Regions from separate parts of the Homo sapiens genome. Here all the other regions are linked to region 1. Evidence: promoter capture Hi-C in human tissues and cell types (Jung and others, 2019). All regions are on one chromosome and are shown on one strand. The core of a region is centred on a gene start or on the middle of the fragment in contact, and the rest is flanking DNA. Distances in the headings are between cores, read along the strand shown.

Region 1 (3,679 bases), core at 412-2,911:
AATGAAGGTATTATATATACATACACACAGTGACATGCACTCATCTTAAGAAGACAGTTTGAAGAATGTTTACTTATGCGTGCTCCCATGTAACTACTACCCAAATCCAGGCATAGAACATTACCAGCAGCCCAGAAGGTTCCTCCTCTTGTTCCAGTCAACAACTCCGGCATAGGCAGCCACTCCTCTTCTTCTTCTTCTTCTTCTTATTATTATTACTATTATTAAGACGGAGTCGTGCTCTGTTGCCCATGCTGGAGTGCAGTGGAGCGATCTTGGCTCACTGCACTTTCGCCTCCCGGGTTCAAGTAATTCTCCTGCCTTAGCCTCTCGAGTAGCTGGGACTACAGGCGCGCGCCACCACGCCCGGCTAGTTTTTTGTATTTTAGTAGAGACGGGGTTTCACCGTGTTGCCCAGGCTGGTCTCGAAGTCCTGAGCTCAGGCAATCCGCCCACCTCGGCCTCCTAAAGTGCTGGGATTACAGGTGTGAGCCACCGCGCCAGGCCCACTCCTATTTTTAGCTCCAGAGATTAGTTTTGCTTCAGGCTCCCTTAACGTCCTGCTTCAAACCCCTATCTGCCCCTTCATCGGCTCCACCTGGAGGCCACCGCTTCCACGGAAGCATGACCCCTTCCCCTGCACCCGCGCGCCCCAGAAGCTCTCAGATACCCCCACGATTTCGGTGACCTTCCGCAAGCTCCAGGAAAAGCCCCTCCTCTCCTGACGCCAAGGGTTTGTTGGGGTTGGGGGGTATCTCCATCAGCCTCCCTCCCCCAGCCACCCAAATTAACCAACAATCTTAGTAAATGCAGCGACTCGCTAGGCAAACCCAGCCTGGAGACAAATATCCGGCCCCTTTCCTACCAAACTGTCACACCTAGGCATTGGTCTGCAGGGAGGGCTGGACAGTGGAAACTGAAACCCTCTGCAAGCCATCACGAATCCACCGGGCACTGGGGACGCTGGCTCCCGCCTTGGCAGCATCCCCCAGAAGCCTGGGCCCTGACCCCACACCGTCTGGGCCTCAGTCTCTCATCGGTAAAGTCAGGGGTAGGGCCCGAGTCTTCCAGGACCGCTTCGAGCTGGGACAAGCCGTTTTAAATAGCCCACAACCCGCCGAGGCCATCAGAGCTGCGCCTGCCGGGCCGCCCTCGACCCCCACCTCGGCCGGGCAGGTCCGAGGCCCCGCAGGCAACATGGGCCCGCGGACTGCGGGACGGGGCTCGACGGCCTGAGATCGCGACTCTGCCTCTCCGATACTTGGGGTCGTCTTCGGCCCCGGGATCCGCGACGCGCGCGGTCGGACCCCGAATACTGAAGGCACCGGGTCCGCAGGGCGAAGGCGCACACGCCCACCAGGCGCGCTCTGCGCATGCGCGGGCTCCGCAATCTCAGCGGCCCACTCGCCCCGCCCCGCCCCCCCCACCCCCACCCCGCGCCGCTCCCCAGGCCCGGCCCTGCCTTCCCAGCATCCCGGCTCCCTACGGCAAGCGGCGAGGCCCGAGCCCGCCGGGAGCAGGGAGCCGGGCGCGGGGCGGGGCGGCGCGCTGAGGTCAGCGCGGCGGCGGCCGGCCCCGTAGTGGTTGGCTGCGCTGGTGCTGGCCGCGCCCTGGTTGGCTGCGGGCCGCGGGGCTGGGCCGCCGGGTCGGGGCTGGGGTCGGGCTCGGGCGCCGGCCGGGCTTGCGCAGCGCTAGGCTCCTCGCCGCTCCTAGTCTGCGGCGGCGGCGGCGGGGAGGGCGCGGCCGCGGGCGGGGCTGAGGGCGGCGGGGGCGGGCCGCCCGAGCTGGGAGGGCGGCGGCGCCGAGGGGAGGAGAGCGGCCCATGGACCCGCGGGGCCCGGCGCCCCAGACTCTGCGCCGTCGGGACGGAGCCCAAGATGTCGGCCTAGGCCGGGGCGCGACGACGCGGACGGGGCGGCGAGGAGGCGCCGCTGCTGCCGGGGCTCGCAGCCGCCGAGCCCCCGAGGGCGCGCCCTGACGGACTGGCCGAGCCGGCGGTGAGAGGCCGGCGCGTCGGGAGCGGGCCGCGCGGCACCATGTCGGCCAAGGTGCGGCTCAAGAAGCTGGAGCAGCTGCTCCTGGACGGGCCCTGGCGCAACGAGAGCGCCCTGAGCGTGGAAACGCTGCTCGACGTGCTCGTCTGCCTGTACACCGAGTGCAGCCACTCGGCCCTGCGCCGCGACAAGTACGTGGCCGAGTTCCTCGAGTGGGGTAAGTGCGCGCCGGCAGGGCCGGACCTGCGGCTCTGCGACCCCCGCGCCCCAGCCCGCGCATCCCCACGCCCGCCCATCCCCGCCCGGACAGACCCTGCCGCCCTCCTGCCCACCCAGCTCGTGGGCTTCGCCTCCTCTCGCTCTGGCAGCGCCCCCAGGCCCGCAGCCCATCTCTCTCCAGCCGCTCCTTGCACCCTCGTCCCTCCGCTAGCTTTTCATCCCTCCTTGCCCTCCCTAGGCTCGACATCCGCGTTCGATCGTCCCGCCCCCTCATCCTGCCCCTTGGAGCCACATCCTACGTTCCCACTCCCACCCCCTCCCCCCCGCCGGGCCCTCGCCCTGGCGGCTTCCTAGATCCACCCTCCGAGTCTGGATATCATTTCCTGCAGCACTCACTGGGATATCCGCCCCCGCCCCCGCCCCCGCCCCCGCACCTCGCCTTTGGGGTCCGGAGGCAGTGTGGAATTAGTTCCCTTTCCCCACCCCACGCTTCTCTGCGTTGTGGGGGCAGCTGGGTGTGCTTTCTGCATCTGCCTCGCCCACTGCCCCGTGGGACCCCCTTGCATCCCCAGGGAGCCCAGCTCTAACGGCCCCTCCTGGGTGACAGCCTGTCTACATCCCCTTGTTGGTCAGAGCCTGAATACCTACTTTGCTGTAACACCTTCAAGGGAATTTTAAGGTTAAGGCTTTATTTTAAATAAACCGTGCAAGAGGACTTTTTTTTTTTAATTCCAATTCTGCTAGACCTTTGTGATATTTGGAGGGGTAGCTGGAGCTATCACTTAGAAACTTTCTCATCTGAATTTTGCATGCCTTCTCTAGTTCGTTCCGGATCTATAATGTTTTAATCATTGGTCAGCTAACCTATTATGCTTTTTTAGGACAAAAATTTGATTAAACCATTTAACGATAATTAGGATCCTAAAGACAGGTAAAAGTGCAGCGTGAAACTCTTTTACTTCATCTCTCCCTAACGGGTGTGCCGGTCAAGACCCTCAGACTGTCTCACCTAAAACCACTGAGTAGGAGGAGGAAATGCGTATGTTCAGGCCAAACCTATGAAAACCTTATCCTTGGGTCATTTGCGTCACTGGGCTAGGACTGTTCAGTTCGAACCAGTAATTTCTAATCTTTGGGGCTGATAAAGCTGATATTTATACGAAGAAACAAATGAAAGTGTTCCACAGTGAGGCCTCCAGGCCTCCTACTCTACTCTGCCAGATTGGTGACTGGAATTTGGAATTTTGTTTACAAATAAAACTTAAGTTGCAATATTCTTTAGAGGGCTTCTGTTGGATTACTCTGTAGTGAAATGTTACACGGTATCTTGTGAGAGCAGCAGTAGAAAGAGGTCCTGAGATCAAGGACAGCCTGTGATGCTTTATTTCCGTGGGAACCACCATTCTTGGTTACTTATAGTATCAGTAAATTAAGAGTATTTGCTTTCTAGCGTCCTTTGTCAGTGA
Region 2 (3,938 bases), core at 922-3,421, 300 kb before region 1:
CCAGCACTTTGGGAGGCCGAGGCAGGTGGATCACGAGGTCAGGAGATCGCCTGGCTAACACGGTGAAACCCCGTCTCTACTAAAAATACAAAAAATTAGCCAGGCGTGGTGGCGGGCGCCTGTAGTCCCAGCTACTCAGGAGGCTGAGGCAAGAGAATGGCGTGAACCTGGGAGGCGGAGCTTGCAGTGAGCTGAGATCGTGCCACCTGCACTCCAGCCTGGGCGACAGAGCGAGACTCCATCTTAAAAAAAAAAAAAAAAAGAAAAAAGAAAAGTGTTGCCCCAATCTTCGCCTTTAGAATCGACCTATAAGTAAAGGACAGAAAGCTTTATTCTGGGCCAGGTGCAGTGGCTCACGCCTGTAATCCCAACTCTTTAGGAGACTGAGGCAGGGGGATTGCTTGAGTTGAGGAGTTCAAGACCAGCCTGGGCAACATAGTGAGATCCAATCTCTACAAAAAAATTAAAAAATTAGCCAGGTGTGGTGGCATTGACCTGTGGTCCCAGCCACTTGGGAGGCTGAGGTGGGAGGATCCCTTGAGCCCAGGAGGTCGAGGCTGCAGTGGGCTGTGATGGCACCACTGCACTCCAGCCTGGGTGACAGAGTGAGACCCTGTCTCAAGAAAAACCCAACAACAACAACAACAACAAAAAACCAGTTTATTTCTACTGCAAGCAGATTATAAATACTATCAATTCTGACAGTATAAAAGTAATAGTACAGACGACTTAAGTTGGGAGTTGGAAGGTGGAGGTTATAAAGCCAAGGTTAGAGAAACAAATATCTTCATCTTCCCTTGTTGGGAATCAAGAGAAGCCTCTATGGATAGAAGAACCAGTAATAAAATCGCAAATATTATGTTTAAGCTTATGGAAGGAACCAATAGAGGGATTGAAAATAATAATAATGGCCAGGCGTGGTGTGAGCCACACCTGAAATCCCAACACATTGGGAGGCTAAGGTAGGCGGATCACTTGAGGTCAGGAGTTGGAGACTAGCCTGGCCAACATGGTGAAACCCCATCTCTACTAAAAATACAACAACAACAACGAAAATTAGCTGGGAGCGGTTGTACATGCCTGTAATTCCAGCTACTAGGGAGGCTGATGCAGGAGAATCGCTTGAACCTGGGAGGCGGAGGTTGCAGTGAGCTGGGATCACACCACTGCACTCCAGCCTAGGCAACAGAGTGAGACTCGGTTTAAAAAAAAATGAAAATAATAATAGAAAATAGTAATAACCACATTGAGAGGAAGATGTGGGGGGATGGGGTGGTGAGTCACCTCTACAGGTGTCACCTGAGACCCCAAGGGATAATGTCTCAAAGTGACAGCAACTTATAGCTATGTACCCGTGTTATATAGTAGTTAGAGGTTAATCACCAGAAAAACCTCAAACAGAAAGTTCAGTTACTACAGGCCAATTCCAAAGCTTGTATTTTTTTTTTTTTTTTTTTTTTTTGGAGACAGACTCTGTCTCTGTCGCCCAGGCTGGAGTGCAGTGGCATGACCCCGGCTCACTGCAACCTCTGCCTCCCAGGTTCAAGCAATTCTCCTGCCCCCATCTTGGTTCACCACAGCCTCCCCATCCTTGCTCAGGTGATTCTCCCACATCAGCCTCCAGAGTCGCTGAGACTACAGGCATGCACAGACATGTCCTGCTAATTTTTGTATATTTTTTAGAGACGGTGTCTCACTATATTGCCCAGGCTGGCCTCGAACTCCTGAGCTCAAAAGATGGCACGCCTTGGCCTCCCAAAGTGCTGGAAGGTGGGAGCTGCCAGGTGTGAGCCACCGTGCCTGGCCTCTTGCTGTTTCATTATCCATTAGATGTGCAGTGTTATTATCTTGGTTCTGTCTGCTCCTGCCCTGTCTCTGAGTTGTTGCCTCACCACGTCACAGTCTTATGAGCTCTTTTTTTTTTTTTTCTTTTAGATGGAGTCTTGCTCCGTTGCCCAGGCTAGAGCACAGTGGCGCGATCTTGGCTCACCGCAACCTCCACCTCCCAGGTTCAAGCAATTCTCCTGTCTCAGCCTCCCGAGTAGCTGGGATTACAGGTGCCTGCCACCATGCCCGGCTAATTTTTGTATTTTTGTAGAGATGGGGTTTCACTGTGCTGGCCAGGCTGGTCTCGAACTCCTGACCTCAACTGATCCACCTGCCTCGGCCTCCCAAAATGCTGGGATTACAGGCGTGAGCCACTGTTATGAGCTCTTTTATGGGGAGATGGATCTGGGGACACCTGCTTTTCTGCCTTGGATTGAATTTCACCATATCTGTTTTTATACTTGTCCTTGTTTGTTTTTTCCTTTGCAGGTTGAATTAAAAAATCAGACTCCAACTGAGGATCACACATTGCATTTAGCAGAAATGTATCTTTAGTCTGCTTTAGTTGCCATAACAAAATACCATAGACTGATTGGCTTACACAATAGAGATTTATTTTCTTGTCCTTCTGGAGGCTGGAAAGTCCAAGATCGTGGTGTCAGCATGATCAGCTCCCAGTGAGGGCTCTCTTCCTGGCTTGCTGTCTTCTTCCTGTGACCCCCACAGGGGACAGAGAGAGAGAGAGAGAGAGAGAGAGAGAGAGAGAGAGAGGGAGAGAAGAGAAAGAAGAGAAGAGAGAGAAGAGAGAGAGACAGGAGAGAGAGAGAGAGAGAGAAGAGAAGAGAAGAGAGAGAAGAGAGAACACACTCAAGAATGCTTTCTGTGCTAAGTGTGGTGGCTCATACCTGTAATCCCTGCACTTTGGGAAGCTGAGGCAGGAGGATTGCTTGAATCCAGGAGTCAAGACCAGCCTGGGGAGCATAATGAGACCTTGTCTCTACAAAAAATAAATAAATTAACAAAATTAGCTGGGCATGGTGACACATGCCTGTAGTCCCAGCTACTTGGGAGGCTGAGGTGAGAGAATCACTTGAGCCCGGGAGGTCAAGGCTGCAGTGAGCTGAGATTGGGCCACTGTACTCTAGCCTGGGCAATGGAGGAAGATCGTGTCTCAAAAAAAAAAAAAAAAAGAAAAGAAAAGGAAAAGAAAAGAAAAACAGAAGTGCTTTCCGGTGTCTCTTATTATAAGAGTACTAATCCCCTCATGAAGGCCCCACCCTTTGACCTCATCTAACCCTATGACCTCCCAAAGGCTCTATCTCCAAATACCATCACACTGGGAGTTTGGTCTGCAATATAGAAATTTTGGGAGGATACTGTTTAGTCCATAGCAACCTTCTTTCTAGATTAAAGAAGACTTTTAAATTTTATTTTATTTATTTATTTATTTTTTGGTGCTTCATGACACTGACGTTTTTGCTTCCTTGTAGTGGCCCTGTGTATGCTTGCATATCTACCAAGCTGTTTACTTTCATTTTGCTCATGGTGTGTTTGGGCTGCTCTGGCTAGGCTATCTCTTCTGATGTTGGGCGGGAGATTTCTCTGACACTCACGTTGTTCTTGGGGGTATTTATCTTCCCCTATATACCAGCTTTGACGAGTTTTGGCTGCATGCATAAGAAAAAATATGCAAAACAAGGCAAATGTTTATTTCCCTCCTCTAAAAGAACCCTGAAGGGAATCAGCACAGTGTTGATATGACACTTTCAACAGCATCCGGGGCCAGCCTCTGACCTTTCTGCCCCATTCAGACCCACTTACTTCTCACTGCCAGGTGGTCCCGACCAGGCACGACTTCTCCGTGACTCTGGTTGGTCACACTTTTCTGGGGACATTTACAAGACGAGAGTTAGTGGGAAGAACCACAGTCTGGCTGCTGCCAATGCCCTGAGGCTGTACTTGATACTCATTATCTTCCTCCACCCTGAACCATCTAGACATTCTGCAAAACAGCATGTTGGCCACCATATAGAGGGCGTCACGTTAATCAGAGCAGATGCCGTGGTAAGACACATGCCATCCAGGGGACTGGAGATAAAGCCTACGGAGAC
Region 3 (4,061 bases), core at 1-2,500, 460 kb after region 1:
AGGCAGGCGCCCTCTGGAAAACACACTTCTTTTATTGACTGGTTTTGGGGGGTCGTTCTTCTACTCGCCTTCTGGATGGGAGGGCAGTCAGGAGCCAGCAAGAGCCCAGAGGCTGAGAGGAGGAGCAAAGGCGTGGGGAGCAGCCTTTGGGAAGGGTTCCGAGAAAGGGGTCTCTGGGGACCTCCTAAGTCCGGGGCGCTCGCAGGACACTAACTCTCCGGCACTGCCACCCTTACCCCTGGCCGAGGCGCAGCTCACCTGGACGCAGGGACCCCCAGCGCCCCCAGGCCAGGTGTGGCCACCTCCGACGCCACCCGCAGTCCTCGGAGGCGCAAGGGGGCAGCGGCGCCGGCCCTGCTGGGGGCGACCTGGCCTCCCCCGGGTGCAGAGGCACGTTTGCAGAACACTCGTGTGCGTGTGCGCCTCCTCGTCCTCGCCCTGCTGTTCTCCCCACGGACGGCAGGGCGAACGCACAAAAAGAAAGTTGTCGGCGGGCTCCCGCCCCCTCGGGCTCGCCGGGGACCCGGGGCTCCCGCTCATCCCCGCCGCCGGCCGGCCGGGGCCGCTACTCACCGGGGTCGAAGTCGGGCACCACCGCCTGGTACTGGGGTCCGACCCTCATGCCACCGCCACCTGCGGGGGAAGCAGAATACGGCGGTCAGCGCGGCGCGGGGCGCGGGGCCCGGGGCCGCGGGGGCGGCTGCCACCTACCGTGCTCCTCGTCGCTGGACGAGCCCGAGCTGCCTTCCTCCCAGGAGTTGCTGCTGCTGTTGCCATTGGGCGCCGCCGCCGCCAAACTTTTATTCTGGCCATTATTGGGGGCGGCGGCGGCTGAGGCGGCGGCGGCCGAGGCTGAGGAGGCGGCGGCGCCCGAGGCGGCAGTGGCGGCTGGCGAGGCGCAGGCGGCCGAGGCGGCGGCGGAGGCGGCGGCGGCGGAGGCGGAGGCGGCCGCGTTGTTCCTCCCTCTCCGCTTCCCTGAGACCTCGGGGCCCTTCTCCACCATGGCCGGCATCGGCGGGGGCCGGGGCCGTGCGAAAGTGGCGGGGACCCGCGGCTCCTGAGGAGGGGGCGCCGAGACGGGGGAGGGGGCGCGGGGCCGGCGCGGGGCCGGGCGGGCGCGGCGGGAGCCCACGGGCGCGAGTCCGAGTCGGGGGAGGCCCAAACGGGCAGAGCGCGGAGCCGCTTCAAGCCCCCAGCGACGAGCCGAGCGCAACTTTCGCTCTCATCGCCGCCCTCACTTCACTGGCACCAACTACTCCGGGAGCAGCGAGCGGAGAGGGGAGGAGGCAGGGGCGGGGCCTGCAGGGGCGCCGGGGGAGGGGGGCGCGCAGCCCAACTGACGCGAGATGGCTCCGCCCCCCCTCGCGCTCCCATTGGCTCTGGTGGGATTTGGACAGCCAGCGGCAGCGGGGTTGGCTCCGCGCGCCCGTCCGTCCGGGGCGGCGGGGCGGGGGAGCGGGGAGGGGCGGCTCCGGGCTTCCGTTGGCGAGGTTCGGTTGACGCGTATCGCCCGCCGTACGTGGTTTGAGGTTTGCCATCTCCCTACGCCCCATGATCCATCTCTCCAGGCAGCGGCGAGGAGTTCGCGGCCCTCCCCGCCCCCTACCCTTGGCCGCGGCCCCTGCCCTTGCTGCCCGCGCACGCCTCCCGCAGCCTCTGGCCCCCCATCTGAAGGACCCCGCTGAGAGTCCCGTCGACTTCTCAAAGTAAAATGTGTCTGGCGCTGGGAAGCCGCGGAGCGCCCGGCCGGGACTACTTTCCGCTGCGCGGAGGAGTACGGGCGCGCTAAGACTCCATACAAAGAGGAAACTAATTGGGGGAAACTCGCTGCGCCCCCGCCTTTCCCAGGGGACGCGGGGCTGGCGGGGGCGGGGGCCGCGGCGCGGGGGACGGGCTTCCCAGGCGGCCGCCTCCCCTGGCGCGAGCTGCGTGGGGACTCGGGTCTGCGGTGCTGCCCGCTAATTGGGTGGGGGAGGCCGGGGCCCCCGGGGTGGCTTGGGTGCGGGGTGCGCCGCGGCTTCAGAGGCCCAAGGGAGGGTCCCCGTGGGTCCCCGGGGCACAGAGTCCCGGCGTGGGGACGCCCAAGCCGCCTGGGTGGCCGCTGAAAGATGAATGAAGGGGCCCAGTCGTCCTGGGGCGGGGGTCCAGGAAGGGTAAAGAGGAAGAAGCTATTTTCATCCCAAGCTCTCGGCACGGGAGGAGGGTCAACTTCTTTCGGGGCGAGGGCAGCCACTTTTCCGGACCTGCCGCCCGCCCCGCCTCCCTACTCCCCCCGGCACCCCCACGAGGGAGAACACGGGGTGCGGGCGGGTGGGGTAGGCTGAGGCTAGCCTGAGAGCCGCTGCCTTGGAGAGGGACCACCGGGCAGCCGTACAGCTGTTAGGAGGCTGAGGAGTGTAACTGCCTTGGAGGTCCCGGTGCCCTACCCCCAGCCAACCCTGAAACTACGCGCCCTTCGTAATTAGACCAGTGGAGGTCTATACGGAAAATCTTTTTAAAGCAGGGAAGGCTATTTTTCTTTTAAGTTACTTCAAACCTGAGCTTAATTTGGGGACTAGCTCTGGATATAAATAGCTACAGGGAGAATTTGGGAGTTTTATGGTTTTAAAGCCTGAGTAAATAAGCAGGGTTTTGTCTTGAACATTTTCTGCAGCATGAACCATTATTAACTTTATTGAAGAGACCACGTTCACTTCTGCCTAAATGGCCTTTAAGAAACAGGGCTGGGAGCCCTCCTGGTATAGAAGCCCTTCCCCCACCAAGTTCAGGTGGGGGACTTAGACTTTTAGACTCTCCTCAAAAGTACGTCCCTCTCCTTGGAGTGCCCTGGATGCTGCAGGTGTGTGCCCCAATACACCCTGTCAGCTGGCCTGGGCAGGGTACAGAACCGGGGTGGCATTCCCGGGGCTGGGCCACCGGCTAAGGCCTCTGACTCATCCGGAGGTGAGCCCTGTGTGAGGAATGAGGTCCAGAACACGCTGCCCCGCTCGCTTGGTGTCTACAAAGTTCTGCCACGAGACTAGAAGGATCAACCTACAAGGGCACAAAGGTGATACTGGGTCATTAAGGCAATAGGGATAGCAGAGCACACAAGGCCGCCCTCTCCACCCACCAGCCCCCAAGGCTGAGGCCAGGCTGGGCTACCAGTAGGGGCGCAGCAGTGGACTTGACAAGCATTCTTTTTTTTTTTTTTCCAACGAATATTAACACTTAATATGTGCCGGGCCCTGTTCTATTTTGTCTGACCCTAATGCTACACCGATACTGTATTGGCCTGAAGCTCTCAGATTTACCAACCGTAAAATACAGGAAACAGTACCTACCTCCTGGCCTGATGGACTGTAATAGAGTCCATCCTTCCAGCATAGGGAACCCCAACGTTAAGGACACTCGCCTTCCCATCGCTTGGGGAGAGGGCTCCACACACAGCCCTGGGATTGGGAATTTGTGATCCCACACTTCTAACGCATCCACAAAGCCGGCAGCCCTATCATGTTTTTCGGTGAGACTCCCACTCTGAAAGTGAGACCTCATGCCTGCTCCCCTCTCCTTACACCTCCCACAGCCCCTTCTGCCTGGGCTCCTAGCCCGTGGCCTTACCTCATTCTTCAGAGAAAAACGAAAGCCTTCAGGATCTTTCTCCTCTCCCAGTACCCAAACAGACAAACTTCCCTGTCGGGTACTCACGTCCTCCTCAGGCCTAGGACCCCATCCCGCTGCCCTCCCCTCGAGGCTTTTCTGTGCCATCAGCCTCACTCTGGACCGACTCCTGCCCCCAAACCCTCTCCTGCCTCTGGCCATTTCTCCCTCCCTTCAGACATTTCTGTAGACTTCCCTACACTCACCTCCTCCACCCCTTCCCGTCCCAGCCTCTCATCACCCCATCCAGCAGGGCTGTGTCCCCACCCCTTAACTGCTGCTAAGGTAACCTACAACCTCTCCGCTGCCCAATCCGGGGGTCACTTCTTGGTCTCGCTGAGCTTCTCAGCAGCAGCTGAGTCGACCACTCCTCCTCCTGGAAACCCTCACTTATCTGGACCTGGGGATTCCAGTTCACCTGG
Region 4 (3,790 bases), core at 406-2,905, 300 kb after region 1:
GAGGGTCCCACCACGACAGGCTAGAAGTGGCTCTTTTATGAAAACCTTTGTCAGAACAAGCGAGGGGACATGGGTGACAGCCTCACAGGCCACCCAACAGCCACCCCTCCTTCCTTGCTGACAAAGCCCAATTTTGTCCTGTGGTCTAGGCATTGCCCTGTGTGCCTCAGGCATAGGCTCTGATTGGCTAAGCCAATGATTCTCCTAGACAATGATTGGCTTAGCCTGGGGCATGTGACCCAATCCTAGCCAATGAGATGTGAGGGGTGGCTATTGAGGAATGCTGGGAAAGGCTTCTTGGCTGATAAGAAGACAGAGGCAAGGCCGGGTGCTGTGGTTCACGCCCGTAATCCCAGCACTTTGGGAGGCCGAGGCGGGCGGATCACGAGGTCAGGAGATCGAGACCATCCTGGCTAACACGGTGAAACCCCGTCTCTACTAAAAATACAAAAAATTATCTGGACGTGGTGGTGTGTGCCTGTAGTCCCAGCTACTCGGGAGGCTGAGGCAGGAGAATGGCGTGAACCCAGGAGGCAGAGCTTGCAGTGAGCCGAGATCGCGCCACTGCACTCCAGCCTGGTAGACAGAGCAAGACTCCATCTAAAAAAAAAAAAAAGAAAGAAAAGACAGAGGCAAAGATGCCTTCCCTGCTGCTGCTGATGGTTGGGTCAAAAGAAGACACACAGAATCCTATCTACTGAGCTTGGCAGAGATAAAGGGTGAGAAAATGGCCTTCAAGATGCCACCAAGAGCCAGCCAGATGTGGTGGCTCACGCCTGTAATCCCAGCACTTTGGGAGGCTGGGGCGGGTGGATCACTTGAGTTCAGGAGTTCGAGACCAGCCTGGCCAACATGGCAGAACTCCGTCTCTACTAAAAATACAAAAATTAGCCGGGCATGGTGTCTCACCCTTGTAATCCCACCTACTCAGGAGGCTGAGATGGGAGAATTGCTTGAACCCGGGAGGTGGAGGTTGCAGTGAGCTCAGATTGCACCACTGCATTCCAGCCTGGGCAACAGAGAAAGACTCTGCCGGAAGAAAGAAAGGAAGGAAGAAGAAAGAAGAAATAAGGAAGGAGGGAGGGAGGGAGGAAAGGAAGAAAGGAAGGAAGGAGGGAGGGAGGGAGGGAGGGAGGCAGGGAGGCAGATGCCACCAAGGGGCCAAACTGGTGAGCCTAGAGCCAAGAGTCCTTCCTTGGAAAAGGCCACTACTTTCCTTATCACGCAAGCCATTTGTGTCAGGTTTCATACTTGCAGCTGAAATGGTCTTAGCCGACACAGTGGGCGAGATGCAGGGAACCCGGGCCCCAGTGCCTAGCGGGGTTCTGCTGAGGTGGGGTGTTTAAGCAGCATAGGGATACAGGTAGGCATACTTTCCAAGTAGGAGTCTAACTAAGCCTTTTGGTTGTTTACTCCTGGGAACCCAGTCTATTTTAGTGCCTTGGACTCTTCTCAAAGGTGCCCCAAGAACCCTCGAGAGTCCTGAGTTAGTGTCACATCCTTCTCTCCGGAGGGTCCCTCGGGGAGGAATTTCCAGAGGGAGGACATACAGAGGCATTTGCTCCAGCCATGGGGAGCCCAGGGTCCGGTCTTGCAGTTTGGGAGTCCCCTTCGGGAGGCTGTGGTCTCGTAGCCTCTGGCCTGTCCTGGGAGTCAGGAGGCCAGGGGCTGGCTCCACCTCTGCCTCAGTTTCCCTGTAATCAATGAAGAGGAGCAAAGGATTGCTGTGTCCCCCCATCTCAGATGTGCTCTGATTCCGTGATGATGGTGGACAGAAGGAACACAGAACCCCTGCTCCCTCTTTTGGAGAAGAACTCATTCATTTATTCCATAACGTCCATCAAGTTGCTAAGGCTCTGAAAGGAGGCAATGCTTCCGCCGCCTCTTAAGATCACCCAGGGCCCTCCATGCTCGGGAGGAGAGGAGGGGTCTTCAGGCAGCAGACCCAAGATGGGCTGTGGCAGAGAGATACCAGGGTGCCATGTGCTCAGGACACAGAGGGCCAGTAGGGAGGTCAGGGGCAGGTCTGAATCCTATCTGGAGGGGTCCAGGCAAAGGCTGCTGAGATGTGTGATGGGATCCTTGGATCCTCTTCAGGAAGGAAACTCCTGGTAGTGTGGACCAAGGCAGGCGCAGGCAGAGTGGGTGGCCACTGTGGCCACCAGTCAGACCGGAGGACAGTGATGTCAAGGGTCTGAGTAGAGGCCAGGACTCCAACTGGCAAGTGGGTCATAGGGGTTGGTCTGAGGTGGGCTCAGGATCTGTCATTGACAGGATTTGATGATCAGCTGGCTGTTGGGGGTTGCTGAGGCTGCAAGCGGTCTGGCTGGCCCAGACACCCAGGGCAGGGGGCCTAAGGAGAGTGGGTCTGGGAGAAAGGCCTGTGAGGAGCTGGGTCGTGTGCAGCTTGGGGCTTCTGTAGCACATCCTGGGAAGACCCCAGAGAGATGCAGGGCTGCCGGGGGAGCTCAAGGGTGGGGGCCTTTCGGGTGAGGGCAGGGAACCTGAACAGGGATTAAAAATCCACCGTGAGCCCCTCACGGGGCATTCCTTTCCAGCAGGATGCAGTGTCCTGGCCAGGGCCTGGTGGGTCGTCAGGGCCCTGAGCTTCCCTCAGTTTCCATGAGCCTGAGCGCCCTGGAGGAGGGAAGAGTGAATCAGGGGAATGGAAATCAAGCCCCGTGGCATGCACAGCCAGCGACCATGCATCATTTAATTTGGGGTTGCAAAAATAACTCAGCCTCTCCCCTGAGGTGCTGGAATTCCCCAGTCTTCGAGTGGGGTTAACTTTAGTAAGAGTGAAATTCAGCCAGGTTGGCGGAGGACAGTTTCCAAGTCTCCTCAGGCCGGCTCTCGCAGTCTGGTGACTGTGTCCAGCCTGCCTCCGTTCTCCTCATTGTCAATGGCCATTGTTGGAATTGCTCCTTCCCGTGACTTCACCTGGGAAGTGGCCTCACCCTTGAACTCAGGACCCCAGACAAGGAAATGAAGCCTCTAACACAGCACAGCCACCACCTTCTGCTCACTCACGCTCCAAGTTCACAGTCCTCCAGGCCCGGCTGCTGCTCTGCACCTCCAGCAGAGATGTATAAAGATTTCATGGCCTAGGAGTGTAATGAGCCCCAGATTATTAAGATCCCATTTCTCTTTGAAAATATCTCATGAAGTATTCTCTTAAATAATTAAAACTAAATTCCACCTATCCAAATAAATGAAAAAGGGTGTTTGGCTCCGTTGTGTCCTTGAGTGACTCTTCGGGGCCACCAGATCCTTTCCATGCTCCCCGCCACCAGATGGATTTCCAAGTGCTGGGCTTTCCAAATGCATTTTCTTCCTCTCTTAGGCCAGTGTTGTTCACAGTGACACGGACCAGTTTACGACCTTCCTGGTGTGTCACCATCCTGCTGATACGCAGGTCAAAAAAAAATCACACAGACATCAGACGCTGACACCAATAGGCCCATCCCAAAATAAGGATTTATATATATTCCAAGAATGCAACTTCATCTATACTTAGGATGGGGAACTTGGCCCCGCTGGACGACAGTGAGCTCATCACCTCCAAAAGCCGGAGTTTGGAGCAGGACTCAGCCAGCATGTCTGGGGAGTATCCTGCCAAGGTCCTCCAAGTGGGTCCCTTTGTGGCCATTGCTGTCTTGCGGTGAGAGTGGAGATGTCTTGTGGGGTGAGGTTGTTGTGATGGACAACAGAGAGAAGAGAAGAAAGTCTGGGCTGGCGGAATCAATTCAGTGTTCTCTTTCCTGCACATTCTGAGGCATAGATAGATATT
Region 5 (3,968 bases), core at 301-2,800, 410 kb after region 1:
TTAGGAACTACTAAAGAATAACACTATAGGCTGCACGTGGTGGCTCATGCCTGTAATCCCAACGCTTTGGGAAGCCGAGGCCAGCCTGGACAACGTGGCAAAACCCTGTCTCTACCAAAAATAGAAAAAATTAGCTGGGCACGGTAGCGAGTGCCTGTGGTCCCAGCTACTCAGGAGGCTGAGGTGGGAGGATCGATTGAGCCCAGGAGGCGGAGGCTCCAGTGAGGCAAGATTGCACCACTACACTCCAGCCTGGGTGAAAGTAAGACAAGTCTCAATTAAAAAATAATAATAGGCTGGGTGCAGTAGCTCACGCCTGTAATCCCAGCACTTTGGGAGGCCGAGGCAGGAAGATCATGAGGTCAAGAGATCGAGATCATCCTTGCCAACATGGTGAAACCCTGTCTCTACTAAAAATACAAAAATTGGCTGGCGCGCGCCTCTAGTTCCAGCTACTCGGGAGGCTGAGGCAGGAGAATCGCTTGAACCCAGGAGATAGAGGTTGCAGTGAGCCAAGATCACGTCACTGCACTCCAGCCTGGCGACAAAGCGAAACTCCATCTCAAAAAATAGTAATAATAAAACTAAAAAATAAAAATAAAAAGAGTAACACTATAAAATTCAACAGCTGGTATTTTCAAACAGTTTTTTATCCACACTCCCCTCAAATCTTCCCGATACACATTCCTCCCATTTTATTTGCACAGTTATACATGCTAAGTATTCATTATTTATCAACAGTAATATTTTTGTTAAGTGGAAGATAGAAAATGTTAAAGCAGGTGGTTGTTACGTATCTATGGGAAAAAGTCAGCTGGGAGGCTGATTCTAGGTGACAAAAATAGAATATGCTAAAAAGAAATGTAGTTTGGAGAATTTTCACCCAAATTAGAGTCTCAATGAAAGGACACAATAAAATACTGAAATACAGATGTGGGTGGATGGTGTAACATTTGAAGGGAACTGTTCAGAAGAACAAGCAGACAGGCAAGCTTAAAAGAAACAAATAATATAATCACCTAAAGAAAACAGGGCGTTTGAGGACACAGAATTAGGTAAAGGAACACTGCCAGAAGACTAGAGGAGAGAGTGTTTGTAATTCACTGCTCAGCCTTTCTTCCATTCACGTAACTGGGCAATGAAGACTTAAGGTGTTCACTGTTAAGTCATTCTTTAACGCAGCAAGCATTTATTTGGTGTAGCATAACAGTCCTGAAATGGAATCCCAGCTCTGCCTAGACTGAAGGAGAGTTCTCTAATCTCTTTAAGTTTCAATTTTCTCTTCTATAAAAATGGAGGAAACAGTTCCTTCTTCAAAGAGATTAAACAGCAAGTTAAAACAAGTAGCAAACGTCTGGTACATAGTAGGAACTTAAAATAATCAATCCAAACACCACAAATAGATTCAATCATAAGGACACTTTTAAGAAATCCAGTTACAAGGCTCATATCTAAAGCAGATTTAGCAAATTAAATAAACAAAAATAAAACATTCCTAGCAATTTCTACTTATTCTAAGCCAATTCAGCATAAAGATCCTCCAGTGTAAGTTCCCTTTTATTTATGAAGCCTACTGAGAATCAATTTGAGAGACCTTCAGCCACAAGAAATCAGGTCTACAGGGCTATCTAAATAATTAGGGGGCCAGGCATGACGGCTCATGCCTATAATCCCAGCACTTTGGGAGGTCAAGACAGGAGGACCCGTTGAGCCCAGAAGTTGCCAGCAGCAGTAGTGAGCTATGATGGTGCCACTGTACTCTAGCCTGGGAAACAAAGCAAGACCCTGTCTCTATAAATAAATAAATAACCCATTTATTTTGCAAGTGTGCTTATTCATATCAATTCACTTCTGGTCAACAAGCCAAAAAATAAGATACATAAATATAAAATAAATCAGTTCACTTCTTCTCTAGTCTCTCAAGCTATTTTCAAATTCTTTTTTCTTTTTCTTTTTTTTTTTTGAGATGGAGTCTCACTCTGTTGCCCAGGCTAGAGTGCAGTGGCGCAATCTCGGCTCACTGCAACCTCTGCCTTCCAGGTTCAAGCAATTCTCCTGCCTCAACCTCCTGAGCAGCTGGGATTACAGGCACCCGCCACCACGCCCAGCTAATTTTTGTATTTTTAGTAGAGACGGGGTTTCACTGTGTTGGTCAGGCTCATCTCAACCTCCTGACCTCATGATCCGCCTTCCTCGGCCTCCTAAAGTGCTGGGATTACAGGCGTGGGCCACCACGCCTGGCCTATTTTCAAATTCTACACCCTTTATTAATAGCAATACTCAGCTCTGAAGGCTGTGAGACCCCTGATTTCCCACTTCACACCTCTATATTTGTGTGTGTGTGTCTTTAATTCCTCTAGCGCCGCTGGGTTAGGGTCTCCCCGACCGAGCTGGTCTCAGCACCAAACATACTGTCAAATTCTTCTAACTAGTCAACAATGTACTGTGCAACAATGTTAGTTTTATTAGCTGCTAGTGAATTAGGAGTTAGTGTTTTAAATGAGAACATTCTCATTAAGATACCTGTATTCTATTATGAGTCTAAGTCTCATTGTCTAATACAGGAATTATTAGTAATAAGATAATTAAGTTATTCAATAAAGAGCAAACCAAATATTTAACATCTAAGAGTAAGTGCTCTAAATCAAGTCCCGTAAGTTTAAAATATCTCAAGTCAGTTCCTAACTCAGTTGGTAAAGAACACCCACAATACCAATGAGAAGGAAGAGACCAATAACTTCAATGTTTATCCCTTTATATATAACAATTGCAGAATAACCAATGTTTTGCAGACACAGGAATTTCACCAAGTATGTGGTACTGCTTCTCCATCAGTAAAATGAGAAGCATGAACTTACTCTCTAGAGTCCATTTAATAGGAAAATTAAGTGGCTTAATCCTGTCTACAACTTTCACGTCTGACTTCCCTTTCCCAACATCCAAGGGAATCCTGTTCTGTCTTTTAACTGAGTGGATGTGGCGAGGTTTGTAGAATGTGTGTGCTTTTTTCCTACTCTCTTCCTCTGATCCTTCAAGCTTTATTAACATACTTCAGAATAGACTAATCTCAGTCATTAAGCACTGCTGATCACTATGATTCCTCCATCCACCCACCCACCCACCCACCCATCCATCCATTTATTGAAGCAGGATCTTGCTCTGTGCTCTGTCCCTCAGGCTGAAGTGCAGTGGCACTCACTGCAGGCCTCTAATTCCTGACCTCAAGTGATTCTCCCACCTCAGCCTCCCAAAGTGCCAGGATTATGGGCACCAGCCACCATGCCCATGGCCACTATGATTCTTTTTTTTTTTTTTTTTGCGGTGGAGTCTCGCTCTGTCGCCCAGGCTGGAGTGCAGTGGTGCGATCTCGGCTCCCTGCAAGCTGCACCTCCCAGGTTCACACCATTCTCCTGCCTCAGCCTCCTGAGTAGCTGGGACTACAGGTGCCCGCCACCTCACCCGGCTAACTTTTTGTATTTTTAGTAGAGACGGGGTTTCACCATGTTAGCCAGGATGGTCTCATCTCCTGACCTCGTGATCCGCCCATCTCGGCCTCCCAAAGTGCTGGGATTACAGGTGTGAGCCACCGCGCCCGGCCCAAGGCCACTATGATTCTTTAAGCTCTCACCTTTCTTCACTGCCTTCATACACAACCAAGTTAGATAACCAATTCATTTTCTTGAGGATCATTCCTAATGCCAATTTCGTCAACCAGATTTTTTACAGTAAACAAAGCCCATTCTAGCTAATATAAGCAACTAAATGGCTCTACAGGAAGGTCATCAAACCAGATTTACAAGCCATGCAACTAGGACAACACCAGAATTACCCCACAGAACTGCTTCAGTGGAGGTCTTAACTGCTGCAGGTGTTAAACACAAGGACACTTGGCAGTGCATAGTGGACACCACCGCTAGAAAACGCTGCCTCTGAAACCTGGCAGCCATGCTTGTCTACTTCACATCACT
Region 6 (3,714 bases), core at 954-3,453, 320 kb before region 1:
AAAAAATTAGAAATAGAATTACCATAGGATCTAATAATCCCACATCCAGATAGATACCCAAAAGAATTGAAAACACAGTCTCAAGGAAATATCTGCACAGTCATGTTCATGGCAGCATTATTCACAATAGCTAAAATGTGAAAGCAAACCAAGTGTCCATCCATAGATGAATGGCTAAACAAAATGTGGTATGTCCATACAATGGAATATTATTCAACCTTAAAAAGAGGGGAAATTCTGACATTAGCTACAACACAGATGAAACTTGAGGACATTATGATGAGTGAAATAAGTCAAACACAAAAGGACAAATTCTGTATGATCCCTCTTCTATGAGTTACCTGGAGCAGTCAAATGTATTGAGACAGAAAGCAGAATGGTGGTGCCAGTGGGGAGGAGGAAATAGAGAGTTCTTGCTTAATAGGGAGAGTTTCCGTTTGGAAAGAAAAGAGACATGAGGACAGATTGCACAACAGTATGAATGTACTCAATGCCACTAAACTGTACACTTAAAAATGGTTAAGATGGTTAAGATGGTTTTATGTTATATGTTGTTACCACAATTTTATTTATTCATTTTTGAGATAGGGCCTCACTTTGTCACCCAGGCTGGAGTGCCGTGGCACAATCACAGCTCACTGCAGCCTCAAACTTCGGGGCTCAAGTGATCCTCCTGCCTTAGTTTCCAAAGTAGCTGGGTCCACAGGCATGTACCACCATGCCTAGCTAATTTTTTGTATTTTTTTTTTTTTTTTGTACAGATGAGGGTTTGCCATTTTGCCCAGGCTGGTCTCGAACTCCTGGCCTCATGCAATGCTCCCACCTTAGCCTCCCAAAGTGCTGGGATTACAGGCAGGAGCCACTATACTCAGCCTGCAATTTTAAAAACAAATAAAGAAATGAAGTCAAAGCTTCAGAAGCTTTGTCTGAAGCTGCACAACTAGTTAGCAACAGAGCCAGAATGGGGGTCCAAATCTCCCAAGCTCCAGCAGACGCCCCCCATATACACTATCACCAGAAAGTATCTGGGTCCCCGATGGCAGCTTCAAGCACCTGCACTAGCAGTGAGATTGCCATCCTCCTGATTTCTTCTGCAAAAAAATAAGCACCTGCTTGTTGCACCCACTACAGTTGGGTTGTGTGTTACTGCCTAGCTTGATCCTAACCAGTACCATCATGCTAAGTGTCACATCTGCTGATCCACAGGCCTGTGCTCTCTGCACCACATCTAGTTTGGACGAACATGGAAAGGCTGCTGCAGGCTTGTCACCCCATCACAGCCCTCACAAACACAACTCCTCTACCAGAGAGTGGGAACTACTGGGACCCGGGAGCCATTCCTCAGTGTGTGTGTGTGTGTGTGTGTGTGTGTGTGTGTGTGTGTGTGTGCGTGTTTGTACGCAGATATGTTGCAGACCAAGAGCTGAACACTGAGAATATGTAAAGCCACAGAGATGGAGAAAAGCAGAGTGTGATAATTATGAGACATTGCAGTCATCATGCTTGGTGAGGGGAAAGAGGAGGGGCCGGGCAGTAGGTGTTCCTGGGACATTCCAGGTAGGCCCCAGATGCTTTGAGTCTTTGGGAAATATGAGGTCCATTTGGACTCCATGCCAGGCTGCTCCCCCCACACCGGGGATGAGGGCAGACAAGCTGCTATTCTTTTAATTTACCCTCCAGTCCCCTTCTTCACTCCAGCGGGGTCCTGTTGCCCTCTGTGAGCCCTGCTTCAAGGCCCAGAAGGCACCCCAGGAATTCTCACTTCCAAGATTGTGTTCCTGCCATTCACTCACCTGGAAAGGCTCCCCTGCCTGCCCAAAGCCTCCCTGCTGTTATGCAGCCATCCTCTCATCCTGTCCTCATCCAGGGTCCTTGTCCTTGTCCTGGCTTCTTCCCTGAAGACTCTGCAGACCAGCCCCCAGGGTGGCCCGCCCCTCCTTGGCTTTTCCTGCCTGAGGTCACAGTACATTTATTGAGCTCCAGCTGTGTACCTGGCACAAGACACCTATGCTAGGACCCCCTAACTCTCCAACAGCCTGTGAGACGTCAATGGGCACGTGAGAGGCGACTGACTGAGACTCAGGAGGGGCTGTAACTCTTCCAACGTCAGGAGCAAGCAAAGGGAGAGCCAGGACTGGGCTCCAAGGCCGAAACTCTGCAATTGATCCTTTCATTCCTGGTCAGTGGAGAGCCCTCGAACCTCCTGTGCTTAGGTCAGTGTGGGTGGGGCCCAGCTGAAAACTCAGTAGAGCTGCATCAGTGATTCTCCACCTTCTGGCTTCCAGTACCCCAGCCTTTCCAGATAGCTCTGGATGGAACGCCTCTCGGGAAGAACATGGGCGCCCCCGCCTTCCTAAACACACTATTCTGAAAAATCGTGTCAGCTTTTCCCACAGCTCAAAGGTGTCCTTTTACCACGTCCCATGCTTCACCGCAGTGTAGAGATGGCCCTGGGGGATGCAGGAGAGAAAGAGCCATTTGCCCCTGCAGTAATTCTCCAGCTCTCGGATCTGCTGAAGATGATTGATCCCCATCTAGTTCTAGATCGGTCAGTCCCCATCTAGATCGGTCAGCCGCCTCTCACGCACACATACACAGTTGTCATTACCAGATTCTGGTAGCGTAGCCCTCTGGAGCCTGCCCTGTCCCATGACCCACTCTGCTCTGAGCTGGGAAAACCCACTGTCTGGAACTATATCTAAAGGTCTAGGGAGACCACAGTGGTGAGGCAGAGGCAAGGGCTTTGGAGTTTGAACTCTGACTATGACGCTGAATGCTGGGGGACCTTGGGCAAGTGACTTCATGTCCCTCAGGCAAGGTTTCTGAACCAGTCAAATGGGAATGGTAACAGCTACCACTCACAGTTGCTCTGGAGGTCCGTGGAGAAAATTCCCAGAGAGCACCAGCGCAGCAGGTGCAGAGTCCACCCTTCCAAAGCTCAGAGGACTCACCACCTCCTGGAGGGCTGCCCTTTCCACCTGTTCCCCAGAGAGGAGCACAGAGCTCAGAGTCTGTAGAACACAGATCAAGGCTTATTAGGCCACACAGCGTGGGGAGTTAGAGACTCACTCCTCCTCCCCGGTTTCCTCCTCCAGTTTTGCCTACCTCACTGAGTACTGAGCTCACGATAGGAGACGTAGAAGCCCTTGGTAAGGGATCCTGCAACACCAGATAAGGCGTTAGTGTTTTTATCATTGCCTGTGCTTTGCAGGCAAGGACTTGGAGATTCAGAAGGGCAAGAAGCCTTCTCAAGCTCACGGACAGAAAGCAGTGCCCTTAGACTCCAGTCTGCTGCTGGCTCTGACACCCACTGGCTGCAAGGCAGGTGGGTAAAAAAGGATAGAGAGAAAGAATAAGGGGGTGAATAGACTACCCCAGCACTCCTGGAGCCTCAGACCTGCCCATTATTGCAGGGTTGACCTATTAAAGTAAGCACATCTCCCAAATACAAACAGGTTTTTCCAAGACAATAAAGTCTAAGCTCTGCTTGAGGAAAGACCATTTCCTCCATTCCTTAGGCTGCTGCCCTACCCTTGGAGCCAGTTGGGCCTCACTGGGTGGAGTCATGAAAAGCCACATCAGCCTTCGGTGGCTGCCCCGCTACTCCTCTCTCCTTCCTTTGTTCCTTCCATCCACAGTGTTTATTGAGCACCTACTTTGGGCAAAGCTATGTTTGAAGCATTGAGGACATAGCTGTGAACAGAGAAAGTTCTT
Region 7 (4,046 bases), core at 593-3,092, 350 kb before region 1:
GAGATTGCACCACTGCACTCCAGCCTGGGTGACAGAGTGAGACTCTGCCTCATAAAAAAAACAAAAACAAAAACAAAACAAAAAACTCCCAAACACCTAATATATGTTTCATGTTCTTTTGAGAAAGCTTAATTAGGCTGGGCGTGGTGGCTCATGCCTATAATCCCAGCTACTCAGGAGGCTGAGGCAGGAGAATGGCTTGAACCCAGAAGGCGGAGCTTGCAGTGAGCCGAGATTGCACCACTGCACTCCAGCCTGGGTGACAGAGTGAGACTCTGCCTCAGAAAAAAAACAAAAACAAAAACAAAACAAAAAACTCCCAGACACCTAATATATGTTTCATGTTCTTTTGAGAAAGCTTAATTAGGCTGGGCGTGGTGGCTCATGCCTATAATCCCAGCACTTTGGGAGGCTGAGGCGGGCAGATCACCTGAGGTCAGGAGTTTGAAACCAGCCTGACTAACATGGTGAAACCCCACCTCTACTAAAAATACAAAAAAAAAAAAAATAATTAGCCAGGCGTGGTGGTGTGCGCCTGTAATCTCAGCTACTCAGGAGGCTGAGGCAAGAGAAACGCTTGAACCTGGGAGGCGGAGGTTGCAGAGAGCCGAGACCATGCCACTTCACTCCAGGCCTGGGCTACAGGGCAAGACTCCGTCCCAACCCCCGACACCCCCCTAACCCCCCAAAAAAGAAAAAGCTTAATTAGTGAGGCATGGTGGCTCATGCCTGTAATCCCAACACTCTGGGAGGTTGAGGCAGGAGGACTGCTTGAACACAGGAGTTCAAGACCAGCCTGGGCAACACGGTGAGAACCCTGTCTCTACAAAAAAATTTTTTAAACATTAGCCGGGTGTGGCAGTGCATGCCTGTAGTCTCAGCTACTCGAGAGGCTGAGGTGGGAGAACTGCCTGACCCCAGGAGGTTGAGGCTATAGTGAGCCATGATTGAGCCACTGCACTCCAGCTCGGGTGACAGGGCAAGGCCCTGTCTTGAAAATAAAATAGGTTGGGCACGGTGGCTCATGCCTGTAATCCCAGCACTTTGGGAGGCCAAGGCAGGTGGATCACGAGGTCAGGAGTTCGAGACCAGCCTGACCAACATGGTGAAACCCCGTCTCTACAAAAATACAAAAATACAAAAAAAAAAAAAAATTAGCGTGGTGTGGTGGTGTGCGCCTGTAATCCCAGCTATGTATTACAAATTTATATTATGTGGTTAGAACTTGACATGTAATACATGTAATACATAGTAGCTATATATTACAGGCGCTATGGCTCACGCCTGTAATCCCAGCACTTTGGGAGGCCGAGACGGGCGGATCACAAGGTCAGGAGATCGAGACCATCCTGGCTAACACGGTGAAACCCTGTCTCTACAAAAAATTAGCTGGGTGTGGTGGCGGGCACCTGTACTGCCAGCTACTCGGGAGGCTGAGGCAGGAGAATGGTGTGAACCCGGGAGGCAGAGTTTGCAGTGAGCTGAGATCATGCCACTGCACTCCAGCCTGGGTGACAGAGCGAGACTCCATCTTAAAAAAAAGAAATAAGGCCTATATCTATATTCTTTTCTTTCTCTTACATGGAAATAAACAGAGCAACTGTCATAACAGAAATAAGCATAACTGGTATTTACCTCTCTGCCTGTAAGGATATGTCTTGCCAATTTTACTTTTGCAAAATTCCCCTTGCCGATTGTTTTCAACAGTCTGTAGTTTCCGATGTGAGGTTGTTCATCTGCACAGGAGGCTATAGAGTTTCTACACCGAGCTCCTGAGCGGCTGGTACGAGAGGTAACTTCTTGACGCCCATCTCCATGTGACGTGTGCTGCAATACAGCATACACAAAGATAAGGAAATGAGAGAACACAGAGTACTTGCCAAGTTCTAAGAGCTTCTAATTGAAGAAAAAACATTCCTACTTTAATTTTAATCTTAAAGTATCTAGCACTTCAAAGGAATTTAACCACATAATATAAATTTGAGGAAAATAAAAATTCTGAGACGAAAAATACGAAGTGTTGAAGTTCAATTGAGTGTTCAGGAAGAAATTAGATATTTTGCATACGTGGCTGTCATATAAAATAGGAGTAAAAGGGCTACCTTCTGGTTATACAGTGCTTAACTTTTCCATATGTTAGTAAGTGCACCTGCACACCTGAGCCTCACTACAGCCCGTGCAGCAGGGGAAAAGCTAATGTCACCATTCACTAGATAAGGATACAGCCACATAACTGTTCAGGGGGAAATCCATAGAGAATCTGGATTCCCGATTTCCTTCTATACTACACTGCTAACAGTAATTCAAAACAATGTGCTTTACAGAAACAGCTAGACTGTGTGGCCCTTAATAGACGACCCTTGTTGTATAGATGAATAAAGTACTCAATATGCTTACTTAATAAAGTACTCAATATGTCTCTACCCTATGAAATATTCAGGCCCAAGAATTACACTTCTGTGTACACACTGTGTACATGGCTGTATGCGCAGGCATCCTGCTACTACTGCTCCCTTGGCCCCCACACACACTCAAAGGATTAGATGTCCCAATCCTTTCCCCATTGTGGCTGTTAACTCCTGCCCAAGGGAGGCTTCTCATTCCACATGCACTCACAGCCACTTTCCACCCCCTTTACACGTTTCTCTTTTCCAACTTTCTGTCCAGGAAAATGTCCTGTCTTTCTCTATATACCTATAAATCAAAACAAGCCTGATTTAACTAATAAACTGCTTTGTAATTTACTCAAATCAAAGGAAATGAAACTCAGGTGTTTTAAAGTGAAAGTAAGCTTTAAAACTTGCGCCATCTACCTCTGAATTTCTCAAAAGATGTCCTTTTCAGAATTTCCTCATTAGTCTCCATCTACTTCTTCATTATTTCTCTAATATTTTCACATTCACATACCAGGTTAGGGGATAGGCTCTTGTCTGTTTTACTCAGTTATCACATAATATGGCATCTCAACAACAATTTCTGTTTTTATTGCAAATGTCTATTTTAGATTAAACAGGCTTTTTATGACCTCACTGCAAATCTAGGCAACTTGTAAACATTGTTCCTCTAACAAAAATGATTCTGATTTCCATATTAGAACTTTGGGAAAATAGACCATTTATAAATATGGAGTTGATAAAAGACTAAAATGATAATAAAGCTTTGACACTAAGGCTTTAATACAAAAACAGGTAGATTTTGTTGTGCACAAGATGCATGCTGTTGTAATGCAAATTATTACATCAACTGCAGTCTAGTTTTAAAAGAAGCTGGGTGATCATGTTTATGTTTATTTCTACATGATTTTAATTACACTAGAATTTAAGTTTCATGAAAACAGTAACAGGAATTTATTATTCCTTATATCTTAGAACAGCAGTTGGTACAAAACTGCTACTCAATAAATATTAGAATGGCTGAATAAATGATATAAATGCTAACCACTATAGTGTTCAGAAGGTTAAAAATAAGGGAAATTTCTCTTTTTTATCTTCTGAATTTCTTCATTCATTCATTGAATATTTACTGAGTTACACACACACACACACACACACACACACACACACACACACACACACAACCAGGCACTATTTAAGGTGTGGTAAAAAGCAGCGCATAAAGCAGTCCATATCCCCATGAGGTATGTATCAAGTGGTTTTACTATCTGTGCAATGAAAACATATTCACTGAATTTATACTACTGGCCAAAATTTTTGTTAAAAAAGCTTTTTGCAATGTAAACATGTATTTTCAAATTTACATGTTTCATAAATTCAACCTTCATGTGTGAAAGCTGATCATACTAATTGGGTCATCCTATTCGTACTCAACTAAATCAGAGCTGAGGGGCAGGGATGGGGTGGGGGGCCAGGGGAGGGGGAGGGATGTAACATTGCTCCAAGATTATAATTCTCTGTAAGCCTGGCTGCTGAAACTGCCTATTGTAACCTGAAACCAGTTTATCTAATGGCTACTGAAACAACTTGTTGCTGACTCTAAGACCAGTATTACCCACCACTGTCACTCACCAATCAGGGCTTGCCACCTCC

The links. Contacts are between HindIII fragments. The study calls those that stand out against the background at their distance.
Region 2: a contact is called between a fragment that was not itself captured here and the fragment with the promoter of CDC42BPB in region 1, in 1 of the 25 tissues and cell types used here (thymus).
Region 3: a contact is called between the fragment with the promoter of RCOR1 here and the fragment with the promoter of CDC42BPB in region 1, in 1 of the 25 tissues and cell types used here (dorsolateral prefrontal cortex).
Region 4: a contact is called between a fragment that was not itself captured here and the fragment with the promoter of CDC42BPB in region 1, in 1 of the 25 tissues and cell types used here (spleen).
Region 5: a fragment that was not itself captured here is called in contact with the fragment with the promoter of CDC42BPB in region 1 in 2 of the 25 tissues and cell types used here (lymphoblastoid cells and spleen).
Region 6: a contact is called between a fragment that was not itself captured here and the fragment with the promoter of CDC42BPB in region 1, in 2 of the 25 tissues and cell types used here (dorsolateral prefrontal cortex and liver).
Region 7: a contact is called between a fragment that was not itself captured here and the fragment with the promoter of CDC42BPB in region 1, in 1 of the 25 tissues and cell types used here (dorsolateral prefrontal cortex).

Annotation. Positions count from the first base shown.
Region 1 is chr14:103,055,531-103,059,209 of GRCh38, reverse strand. CDC42BPB (CDC42 binding protein kinase beta) reads left to right here and starts at 1,661. Exons shown (of 37, transcript NM_006035.4): 1 at 1,661-2,211. The coding sequence starts at 2,037. RefSeq lists an enhancer at 524-1,174 and silencers at 1,170-1,279, 1,320-1,819, 1,910-1,989. The HindIII fragment of the contact is 24,533 bases long and covers 1-3,679 here.
Region 2 is chr14:103,355,801-103,359,738 of GRCh38, reverse strand. No RefSeq gene overlaps it. Among named protein-coding and RNA genes, the nearest start is that of SNORA28, 20 kb to the right of the region's middle. The HindIII fragment of the contact is 3,148 bases long and covers 598-3,745 here.
Region 3 is chr14:102,589,838-102,593,898 of GRCh38, reverse strand. RCOR1 (REST corepressor 1) reads right to left here and starts at 1,250. Exons shown (of 12, transcript NM_015156.4): 1 at 712-1,250; 2 at 574-633. The coding sequence starts at 1,012. RefSeq lists silencers at 274-883, 944-2,253 and enhancers at 1,832-2,647, 2,929-2,978. The HindIII fragment of the contact is 11,930 bases long and covers 1-4,061 here.
Region 4 is chr14:102,753,809-102,757,598 of GRCh38, reverse strand. LOC124903390 (a long non-coding RNA gene) reads right to left here. Exons shown (of 2, transcript XR_007064356.1): 2 at 1-3,790. Among named protein-coding and RNA genes, the nearest start is that of TRAF3, 22 kb to the left of the region's middle. RefSeq lists enhancers at 2,696-2,865, 2,936-3,135. The HindIII fragment of the contact is 8,282 bases long and covers 1-3,790 here.
Region 5 is chr14:102,649,548-102,653,515 of GRCh38, reverse strand. The region is part of intron 2 of RCOR1 (REST corepressor 1); the gene reads right to left. Among named protein-coding and RNA genes, the nearest start is that of RCOR1, 59 kb to the right of the region's middle. RefSeq lists an enhancer at 1-248. The HindIII fragment of the contact is 4,634 bases long and covers 1-3,867 here.
Region 6 is chr14:103,377,659-103,381,372 of GRCh38, reverse strand. No RefSeq gene overlaps it. Among named protein-coding and RNA genes, the nearest start is that of MARK3, 5.9 kb to the left of the region's middle. The HindIII fragment of the contact is 6,371 bases long and covers 1-3,714 here.
Region 7 is chr14:103,402,857-103,406,902 of GRCh38, reverse strand. It overlaps MARK3 (microtubule affinity regulating kinase 3), which reads right to left. Exons shown (of 18, transcript NM_001128918.3): 2 at 1,636-1,827. Among named protein-coding and RNA genes, the nearest start is that of MARK3, 19 kb to the right of the region's middle. RefSeq lists a silencer at 3,893-3,992. The HindIII fragment of the contact is 3,197 bases long and covers 244-3,440 here.